Linked DNA regions of Homo sapiens: region 1 is linked to region 2. The links are contacts of gene promoters, found by promoter capture Hi-C in blood cells and fetal thymus (Javierre and others, 2016). All regions are on one chromosome and are shown on one strand. The core of a region is centred on a gene start or on the middle of the fragment in contact, and the rest is flanking DNA. Distances in the headings are between cores, read along the strand shown.

Evidence for each region. The method cuts DNA at HindIII sites, captures the fragments that hold promoters and counts their contacts. A CHiCAGO score of 5 or more calls a contact.
Region 1: a fragment that was not itself captured here is called in contact with the fragment with the promoter of ICOSLG in region 2 in 6 of 17 cell types (total B cells, naive B cells, M0 macrophages and 3 more); the score reaches 12.1 in total B cells.

Annotation. Positions count from the first base shown.
Region 1 is chr21:44,150,009-44,154,520 of GRCh38, forward strand. No RefSeq gene overlaps it. Among named protein-coding and RNA genes, the nearest start is that of LINC01678, 7.6 kb to the right of the region's middle. The HindIII fragment of the contact is 1,519 bases long and covers 1,270-2,788 here.
Region 2 is chr21:44,239,102-44,243,563 of GRCh38, forward strand. ICOSLG (inducible T cell costimulator ligand) reads right to left here and starts at 1,842. Exons shown (of 7, transcript NM_015259.6): 1 at 1,703-1,842. The coding sequence starts at 1,716. RefSeq lists enhancers at 319-1,097, 3,602-4,140 and cis regulatory regions at 1,653-2,652, 1,653-2,577, 1,653-2,568. The HindIII fragment of the contact is 2,685 bases long and covers 271-2,955 here.

The DNA of each region.
Region 1 (4,512 bases), core at 779-3,278, 89 kb before region 2:
AGAAAGAAACAGGGTCTCACTGTGTTGCCCAGGCTGGTCCCAAACTCCTGGGCTCAACTGATCCTCCTGCCTCAACCTTCCAAAGTGCTGGGATGCCAGGTGGGAGCCACTGGGCTCAGTCTTGTGTTTTTAAAACTCATCACCAAACCCTCGGTCATCTAGATTTTCTCCTGTGTTATCTTCTAGGAGTTTGATAGTTTTGCATTTCACATTTAGGTCTGTGATCATTCTGAGTGAATTGCTGTAGGGGTGGAATGTGTGTGTTGGGATTCATTTTGGGAATGTGAACGCCCCGTTGTTTGGCTCCATTTGGTGGAGGCTGTGCCCCATTGCATTGCTTTTGCCGCTTTGTCACAGACCAGTTGACTCTCCATGCGGATTTGTTTCTGGGCTCTCTCTCCGCTTTCACTGGTCTGTTTTGCCAACACCCTGTCGTGAGTACTGTAGCTTTATAGTAAGTCCGGAGCCTGCCAAGTCTTCAGAGTTGTAATCTGCCCCTATCAGATGTCCAAACCATGCCCCCAGGGCCCTGAGATCAGATCCCCAGGAGGGCCTGGCTGGAGTACCCATAGCCCTGAGCGCCAGGAGAGCAGGGTCTGCCTGCTGTGGGAGGTCTGTCCTCGTGAGGCCGGACACCCAGCCCTGGTTGTCCTGGTCCACCTGGTATGACCCTGCCCTGTTCCTGCTTCTCCCAAGCACCCGTGACCCTGGGAAGCCTGTCACAAACACCTCCCTGGACAACCCATGCTACAGAGTGCACCACGCCAATTGCCACCACAGCCTCAGGCAGCACTGTCACCCACAGCAGAGGCCGCCCTCACAATCTCACACTTCAGGAGCCCAGGTGGGACGCTAGCCAGGGTCCCTAGAGGTGGCTTTGCCGGCCCAGGCAGCCCCATCTCTCCGGGACCCCGCTGCTCCCTGGGTCCAGCCCAGGCCCTGATTCAGCAGCAGCTCCATAAAGAAGTAAAACGAGAATATTCACGGGGCCCACACTTAGTGGACTCCTGTCACATGGTGTCCAGCATGGCTCGTGGGTGAGGACAGCAAAACCACCAAGAAATGACCCGAGAGGCCAACAGCAGCTCCCTGGGAAGGCCACACTCTCCAGGAAGACATAGCAACTCTGAAACACACAACTTAGGTAGAAATCTAACAAGATATTTACAAGATCTGTGAGGAAAATTATAAAACTTTAATAAGTCAAAGAGGTAAAATGGAAAGATATTCCACACCCCTTATTATGCATAACTCCTTTTATTCCTGATAAGCTTCTTTGCTCTGAAGTGTGCTCTGAAATTAATATAGCTATTCCAGCTTTCTTGTGATTAATGTGAGTATGGTATTTCTTCCTCTGTTCATTTACTTTTAATCTACATGTGTCTATTTATTTATTTATTTATTTATTTATTTAGAGACAGAGTCTTGCTCTGCCACCCATCTCTACAGTGATGAGATCATGGCTCACTGCAACCTCCGCCTCCCGGGTTCAAGTGATTCTCCTGCCTCAGCCACCTGAGTAGCTGGTCTACAGGCACAAGCCACCACGCCTGGCTAATTTTTGTATTTTTAGTAGAGATGGGGTTTTGCCGTGTTGGCCAGGCTGGTCACGAACTCCTGACCTCAAGTGATCCGCCCGCCTCTGCCATCCAAAGTGCTGGGGTTACAGGCGTGAGCCACTGCGCCCAGCCATTGTTTTTATTTTTAAAGTGGGTTTTGTGTAGATAACATATAGTTAGGTCTTATTTTTTGATCCGTTTTGACAATCTCTGTCTTTTAATTGGTGCATTTATACCACTGACATTCAAAGTCACTGTTGATATAGTTGGATTAATATCTACCATGTTTGTTCCTATTTTCTATTTTTTGTTTTTGTTTTTTATTTTTTCTGCCTTTTGTGGTTTTAATTGACCATTTTATGATTTTATTTTCTATTCTTTCTTAGACATCAATTATACTTTTTCACATTTTCAGTGGTTACCCTAGATTTTGTGATACACATTTCCAACTATTTCAAGCCCACTTTCAAATAACACTGAACTGCTTGCTAATCGGTAGCCCAAGTATTTTTTGTTTTGTTGTTTTTTGAGACAGGGTCTTGCTCAGTCGCCCAGGCTGGAGTGCAGTGGTGTGATCACGGCTCACTGCATCCTGGAACTCTTGGCTCAGCCTCCTGAGTTGCTGGGACCACAGGCGCATGCCACAGCACCTAGCTAATTTTTGTATTTTTTATAGAGACGGGGTTTTGCCACGTTGCCCAGGCTGGCCTCAAACTCCTGGCTCAAGCAATCCACCTGCCTTGGCCTCCCAAAATGCTGGGATTATAGGCGTGAACCTCTGTGCCCCACCAAAAGTATCTTTTAATAACAGTATGTTCCCAATTCTTCACTCCTGTCCCCTGTATCACTGCTATTATTAGTTTCACTTATACATAAGCATATATAATCAAGTACATTGTTATAACTTTAACAAACTTTTGTCTGTTCCATTAAGATTAATGGCCAGGCATTGTGGCTCATACCTATAATCCCAACACTTTGGGAGACTGAGGTGGGAGGATCGTTTGAGGCCAGGAGTTCAAGACCAGCTTGAGCAACATAGTGAGAGCCCATCTCTCCAAAAATTAAAAAACGAGCTGGGCATGGTAGTGTGCACCTGTGGTCCCAGCTACTTGGGAGGCTGAGGTGGGAAGATCGCCTGAGCCCAGGTGATCAAGATTGCAGTGATTACACCATTGCACTCCAGAACAAGACCCTGTCTCAAAAAAAAAAAGAGTAAGAAAAATAAAAGCTTTTATTACCTTTCTTATTCCTTCTCGATCACTCGTGCCTTTCTTTATGTAAATCCAAGTTTCTGACTTGTACATTTTTTTTCCTCTCTAAAGAACTTTTAACACCTTTTGCAAAGCAGGTCTACTAGTAACAAATTCTCAATTTTTGTCTAAGTCTATTTTTCCTTGACTTTTGAAGGATAATTTCGCTGGATACAGAATTCTAGGCTTGTGGATTTTTTCTCAACACTTTAAATATTTCAGTCCACTGTATTTTTACTTGCACAGTTTCTGTAAAGTCAAAACTAATTCTATAAGAAATGAATGTATTCTTTGTCTGTAGTTTAGGTGTTCCTCCCCACCCGCTGCTGGCTTCTTTCAAGATTGTTTCTTTAACTTTCTGCAGTTTCAATACCAAATGCCTAGGTGTAGATTGGGCATGATACCGCTTTTAGCCTGCTCTAAAACACAAGCAGGACTTGGTGCCTGGACAGGCACCCAGCAGGGGAGACAGTTCCAGGACTCACCCCAGCTGCTGCGAGCGTTTCCCTGCAGGAATGGGATGTGGCTGGGGAAGGGGTGTGGCTGTGGAAGAGGTGTGGCTGCGGAAGCCTTCCAGGCTCCTGCTGGGTCTGGAAGTGCTCCCTACCCCCGTGTCTGTGTTGCTTTCCTGGGGCCTCCAGCCGTGGTGAGAAAGGCGTGGGTGGGGGCCGAGGGAGGGGCTGGCTGGCTTTAGACTGTGCTGCTGCGTAGATGGGTGCCTGGCAGCCTCCCTGGGCACAGCCGTGGAAGAGACTGCCATCTCCGTCAGCCTCAGTCACCCCGACCCTGAGGCCCAGCGGCTGTCCTAGAGGGGAGGAACTGGAACCTGGGAAGTCGACCAGGTGTGCACCATGGGGTCATTGGCCGGCACTAACCACCAAGTGGCTTCAGGGGTGGGGGCAGCCTGGGTAGACCAGGCCAGGAGACCGGCCCAAACCAAACGGCTGACTCACGGGATTGTGAGCAAATACAATGATGGTTTCAAGCCACTAACAAAATCTCTCAATTTCACTTAGCGTCATGTTCTCGGGGCCCATCTGTGTTGCAGCGTGTGTCAGAGTTTCCTTCTTATGGCTGAAAAATATTCCATCGTGTGCGTGGGCCACATTTTGTGTGTTCATTCCTCTGGCGATGGACGCTCGGGCTGCTTCCATGTTTTAGCTGGTATGAATAATGCTGGCGTGAACATGGGCGCCAGGTGTCTCTCTGAGACTCACTTTCGGTTCTGCTGGGCCCACGCCTGGAAGTGGAATTGCCGCGTCATGTGCTCGTTCTGACTTGAGGAACTAACTGCCTTCCTGCTCTCCCTGCAGCTGCGCCATCTTCCAACCCAGCAGCGCTACACAAGGCTTCCGGTTTCCCCACATCCTCGCCGACACTTGTCACTGTTTTTGTTGATAATGGATGTGAGGTGGTTGTGGGGATTTCTTGCCAGGCCTTCCCGGGGAGCTGCTGTTGGCCTCTCGGGTCATTTCTTGGTGGTTTTGCTGTCCTCACCCACGAGCCATGCTGGACACCATGTGACACGAGTCCCCTAAGTGTGGGCCCCGTGCATATTCTCATTTTACTTCTTTATGGAGCCACTGCCGACTGCAGGGTCCGGGCTGGACCCGGGGAGCAGTGGGGTCCCGGAGAGATGGGGCTGCCTGGGCCGGCAAAGCCACCTCTAGGGAACCTGGCTAGCATCCCATCTGGGCTCC
Region 2 (4,462 bases), core at 592-3,091:
TTGGGTCTGGGAGCCTTTGCACCCTGCACGCCACAGGCTCGCCACCTCCTCCCGCCAGCCCCCAGGATGCCTTCCCCACGTGGGGGCCCTTAGTGGCCGGGACCACTTTGGTAGCAGTGCTTACCCCAGCCCCCCAAACCATCAGTTTCTGGGGCCAGCTCCCCATGAAGCAAGAGCCCCAGGAGCAGGGACATCTCCTTCTCTGATGTCCCTGCACCTCCAAGGTCTGGGAGACGCTCATCCCTCTTCTCTGTGGCCTCTGCCTGGGAAAGCTTGGGGGCTTTGTAAGTCAAAGGTTGGTCTTGTGGGAACCTCCCAGTGGGCTGTCCCTGAGCCCTGGAGCCACAGAAACCCCTGCCCCACCCACGATGGCTGTCATCTGAGTCTGCATGGAGGTGTGTCTGTGCCAAGTGAGCACACATGCACCAAGGCGGCCCCTGGCCACCAGGGGCTCTTGAAGTCTGCAGGCGGCCCTTCCTCTCTCTCCCACTCCCCCTGTTGGGGCCACCATTCTGGCTGGCAAGATGGCTGTGATGGCCTCCAGCAGGCCCCCTGCCTCCACCCTTAGCCCCTTCAAGCATTTCCCCAGAGCCACCATCTAAACGACAGCTGTGAGAACTCCTCTGTGCCCCCATTTGTCTCCCACAGTGCCCATATTCATCACCAGCCCACAAGGCCCCTCCTGTCTATGGAGGCCTCCTCAGGACATCTGGGGGCTTCCTGGGCCAGGGTGGGGGGTGCCTGCTCCAGGCTGTTTCTGGCTTGTCCCCTCCCTGGGTGCTGCCTAAGCAGCGGCCTCTGTGTCCTTTCCTTGGACCCTCAGCACCCCTGCATCTAACCTACCCCCACCCCGAGCTTGCCTCAAGACCCAGCATGGACAGGGCCGCCTACCTGAAGGTGTGGGTGGCGGAGGGCTAAGACATTTGGGAGGGCTATGACATTCCGGGACCTTTAAATTCTTTCTCTCTAGGGCAGGATCATAACTGCATACACTTCTAATGGGGAGGGGACCTGGGGAGTGTGACTCCGGTGTGGCCCAGCTCTGAGCTGTGCGGGAGGCATCCCTGGGGTCAGGGGCCTCACAGGTTCACCCAGGGGAGCACAGGCTGCGGACCCTACAACGTGGGTTGCGAAGAGTATATTTTGGATATTTTCGCAAAAATCCAGGAGGAAGCTGTCACTCCTGGTTCAGGCAGCCCCGCCTTCCCCAGTGTGGATCGGCTGCCGGGCTGCGGGGAATCCCACGTGTGTGGGGGAGGGCGTGTCCGCAGACCGTGGGCACCAGCTGGCCTTGGAGAGCGCTCGGCCGGTCACCTCCCTCCTTCTCCCTTCTTCTAGGAAATCAGCAGTGCCAGGGAGTGGAAGGGGCAGCGCCCGTGCCCCGGCGTGCAGGGTGCGCCCGCCTTCCCTCCCTCCTTCCAGCGTTCGCGGTCCTCCTTCCCTGGCAGGGACCCCGCCCCCGAGCCCGCCCCCGCACGGCTGTGCGTCCTGCCATGGGTCCCGGTGCCAGGCCCCGCCGCCCACTGCCGTCCACGCCCCGCCGGCCGCCCCGGCGCCTCCGCCGCCCGCTCCTCGGACCCGCACTGCCAGCCCGGCACCTCCAGGCGAGCCCCGCAGGCCCCGCGTCCGAGCCGAGCTGGGGACGCGCGGGCCGAGCCACCCCGCCCCTGACCGCGGCGCCTCCGCTCCTTCCCCGGCTCACCTGCCCAGCCGCATGGTGCGGGCGGAGACCTCGGGCCGCGGAGACCTCGGGGCGCGGAGACCTCGGGGCGCGGAGAACTTGGGCCGCGGGAGACCTCGGAGAGGAGCAACCTCGGGGCGCGGGAGATCGGCTCTAACTGCGCTCCCGCCGCGCCCGAGGCTCTGAGCGCCCAGCGCGCGGTGTGCTGGAGGCAGCCGTGTCCCCGCCCCGTCCCCGCCCCGCCCCCGGCCTGGCTCCTCTGGCGACCGAGACCGCCCCGGGACAGGAGGCGGGGCGCTGCGCGGCGGCTCCGGAAAGTTCGGCTCTGCCCAGGCGTGTGCCCGTCGGCCGGAGGCGGGACAGAGGCAGGTCGGCCTGTCCGCCTGGACGCGGACCTGGGCGCCGTAGGTGCCCTGGGAAGCGCAGGGGTGGGGGGTACCCGGCAGGAAGGTGGCCAGGGGTGCTGCGGGTGCCGGCGCAGCGAGGGAGGGCACCGTGGGAGGCAAGGGCCGTTCCCCGCGCCGCGCACAATGCGCCGGTCCTGCGGCCCTCCCCGAGCAGGAGTCCGGGGACCCAGGCCCCAAGGCTGGGAGAGCGCCAGGCCCCTGGCCGGCTGCGCTCCGATGATCTCCAGGACTTAAGGCGAGTGAGCTCAGCGACTGCTGAGGAATGAATGACTGAATGAACGCATGCATGAATGGAAGGAGGGAGGGAAAGTGGGCGGGCTCTACCCTCTGGGCCAGCCCCAGCCCGCCCCCACCTAGCCTTGCTCCCCTAGCCTTCTAGGGGTGTGAAGGGCGCTGGCGCAGCCTCTTTGCTTAACACTGGCTCTGAGGATCCCCCGCCGAGAAACCGAGGCAGGCTTGCGGCTCTGGGCTCGTCAGCCTTGGCAGTGGCGTCTGGCCTGGAGTCTGGGGCAGCTGGTTTGGGAAAGGCTGCACCACGCAACCGAGGGTGGGACCCAGAGTCCCTGCTCCTTCCCCACCGCACCCAGCCCACCCCGCCCTCCCTCCCTGATCCCTGCAAGCCAGGTGAGGCCCAGGGGGGACGTGACTCCCTTTCTGCAGAGGCACCTCCGGAAGGGCCTGGGTGAGGCTGCTAGACAGGGCAGCGGGGCACCCTCCTCCCGGAGCCCCCGCCTCTGGGCTGAGGCTCGGATCCCCACCGCCTCCTGCGCATGGAGGAGGCGAGAAGCGCAGGGAGACGGGGGCCCCAGACGGCACCCCGCAGGCTGCCATTCCTTCAACCAAGATGTAGAGAACGCCGTGGACAAAAGCTTTAAAAAAATTCTGAAACCTCTGCCCGTGGGAAGTCAACATTTTTGCGGAGCAGAGAGCCCAGGCACAAAATAAGAAGGCGGAAGAGACGGGCTGGGGGGATAGGGGGGACGGCGGCGGGGAAGGGCAGGGAGGGCGGCGGCGAAGGCGCAGGAAGCCCTGAAGCCGGGCGGCTTCCCCCTCCCAGGCCACGCTGAGAGACGGGGGTTGGGGGGATTTAAAATCGCGCGCCTGGCAGGGGCGGGGCGGGGGCCACCTGCCCTCCGGCGGGAAGAGCTGGGCAGGGCCCGCGGAGTGCAGGGCGGAGGCACTGGCGGTCCGCACCCGGGTGAGGTGAGGCGCGTAACCGCATCTGAGCCGGACTCTTTAGGACGAGTCCCGTCCCTGGAGTCAGAAAACCCGGTCCAGCGCCAGCGTGGACGTGCGCTTCCCGGGACACGCCCAGGGACGCCGGCTAGGACCGGCGAGGCTGGAGGGGTGGCGATGTTGGGGGCTGAGGTTCCTCGCCCCGGGGCGGGCGGCTGCTGGTAAGGGACCGCATGGCCCCGCAGGTGAGGAGGGCGCAGGTGAGGAGGGCGCAGGTGAGCCGGGCGGGCTGCGGGCAGCGCCACCTCCTCCCGGAGGCCCTCCCTGATTGACCGGCCGGGAACCGCGCGCCTCTGGGCCTGCGGCTGAGGTCCGGGGCTGCGCCGCGCCGATGAGCTGACGCCGGGCCGAGCGCTCCACCCCCAGGGCCGGGCGCACCTGAATCCCCTCCACCCGCGGGACTGCGGAGAGGGGGACGGCCCCCGGATACCGCGTGGGGGCTTTGGGAGGATGGGGAATGGGTCCTGGGGGAGCAGAGCCTCCCAAATTAAGGCCTCCCAAGAGCGCGGCCGGTCATCCGCGGCGGCGAAGGGAAGGTGCCCTGTCGGTGCGTCCGGACCCCGCAGCCCCCCAGTGCCGCCCGGGGGCGGTGGGAGAGGGGCCGACACCGCAGGGCCCGCCGTGCTGTGGCCGAGGGGGCAGGTCCAGGCTCTGCTTCCCGGGCAGACGCCGGAGACCCCAGCAAGCCAAGTGCTGCGGGCAGCCCCCCCCCCGCCCCCCCGAGAGAGGGGACGCCGCGTGGAGGCCACAGCCAGGCAGGGGCAGGAAGGCAGCTGGGCCAGAAGGGGACACTGAGGCAGGCCGAGGCGGCCGCGGGGGAGGGTGCCAGGACCAGCCCAGGAACCTCGGAGACCACGGTAAGCGGTGGCTGGTTCAGATCCCAACTCCGGAGCTGTGTGACCCCAGAAAGTTCCTTAGCCCCTTGGTGCCTGCATCCCCTGACGTGTGACATATACATGAATGGGGCTGTTGTAAGTGAACGCACACAGCACACCGGCACATGTGTCACAACACTTAGATGGGTTTAGATGAAGAAACAGGGAAACCTTTGGGAAGTTTCCTGTAGTCAAAGGAAGGTTTTCGTTTTCCCCCTCAACCGTGACTGTTTCTTGGGCCGGCAGGATAGGCTTTTGTTCTA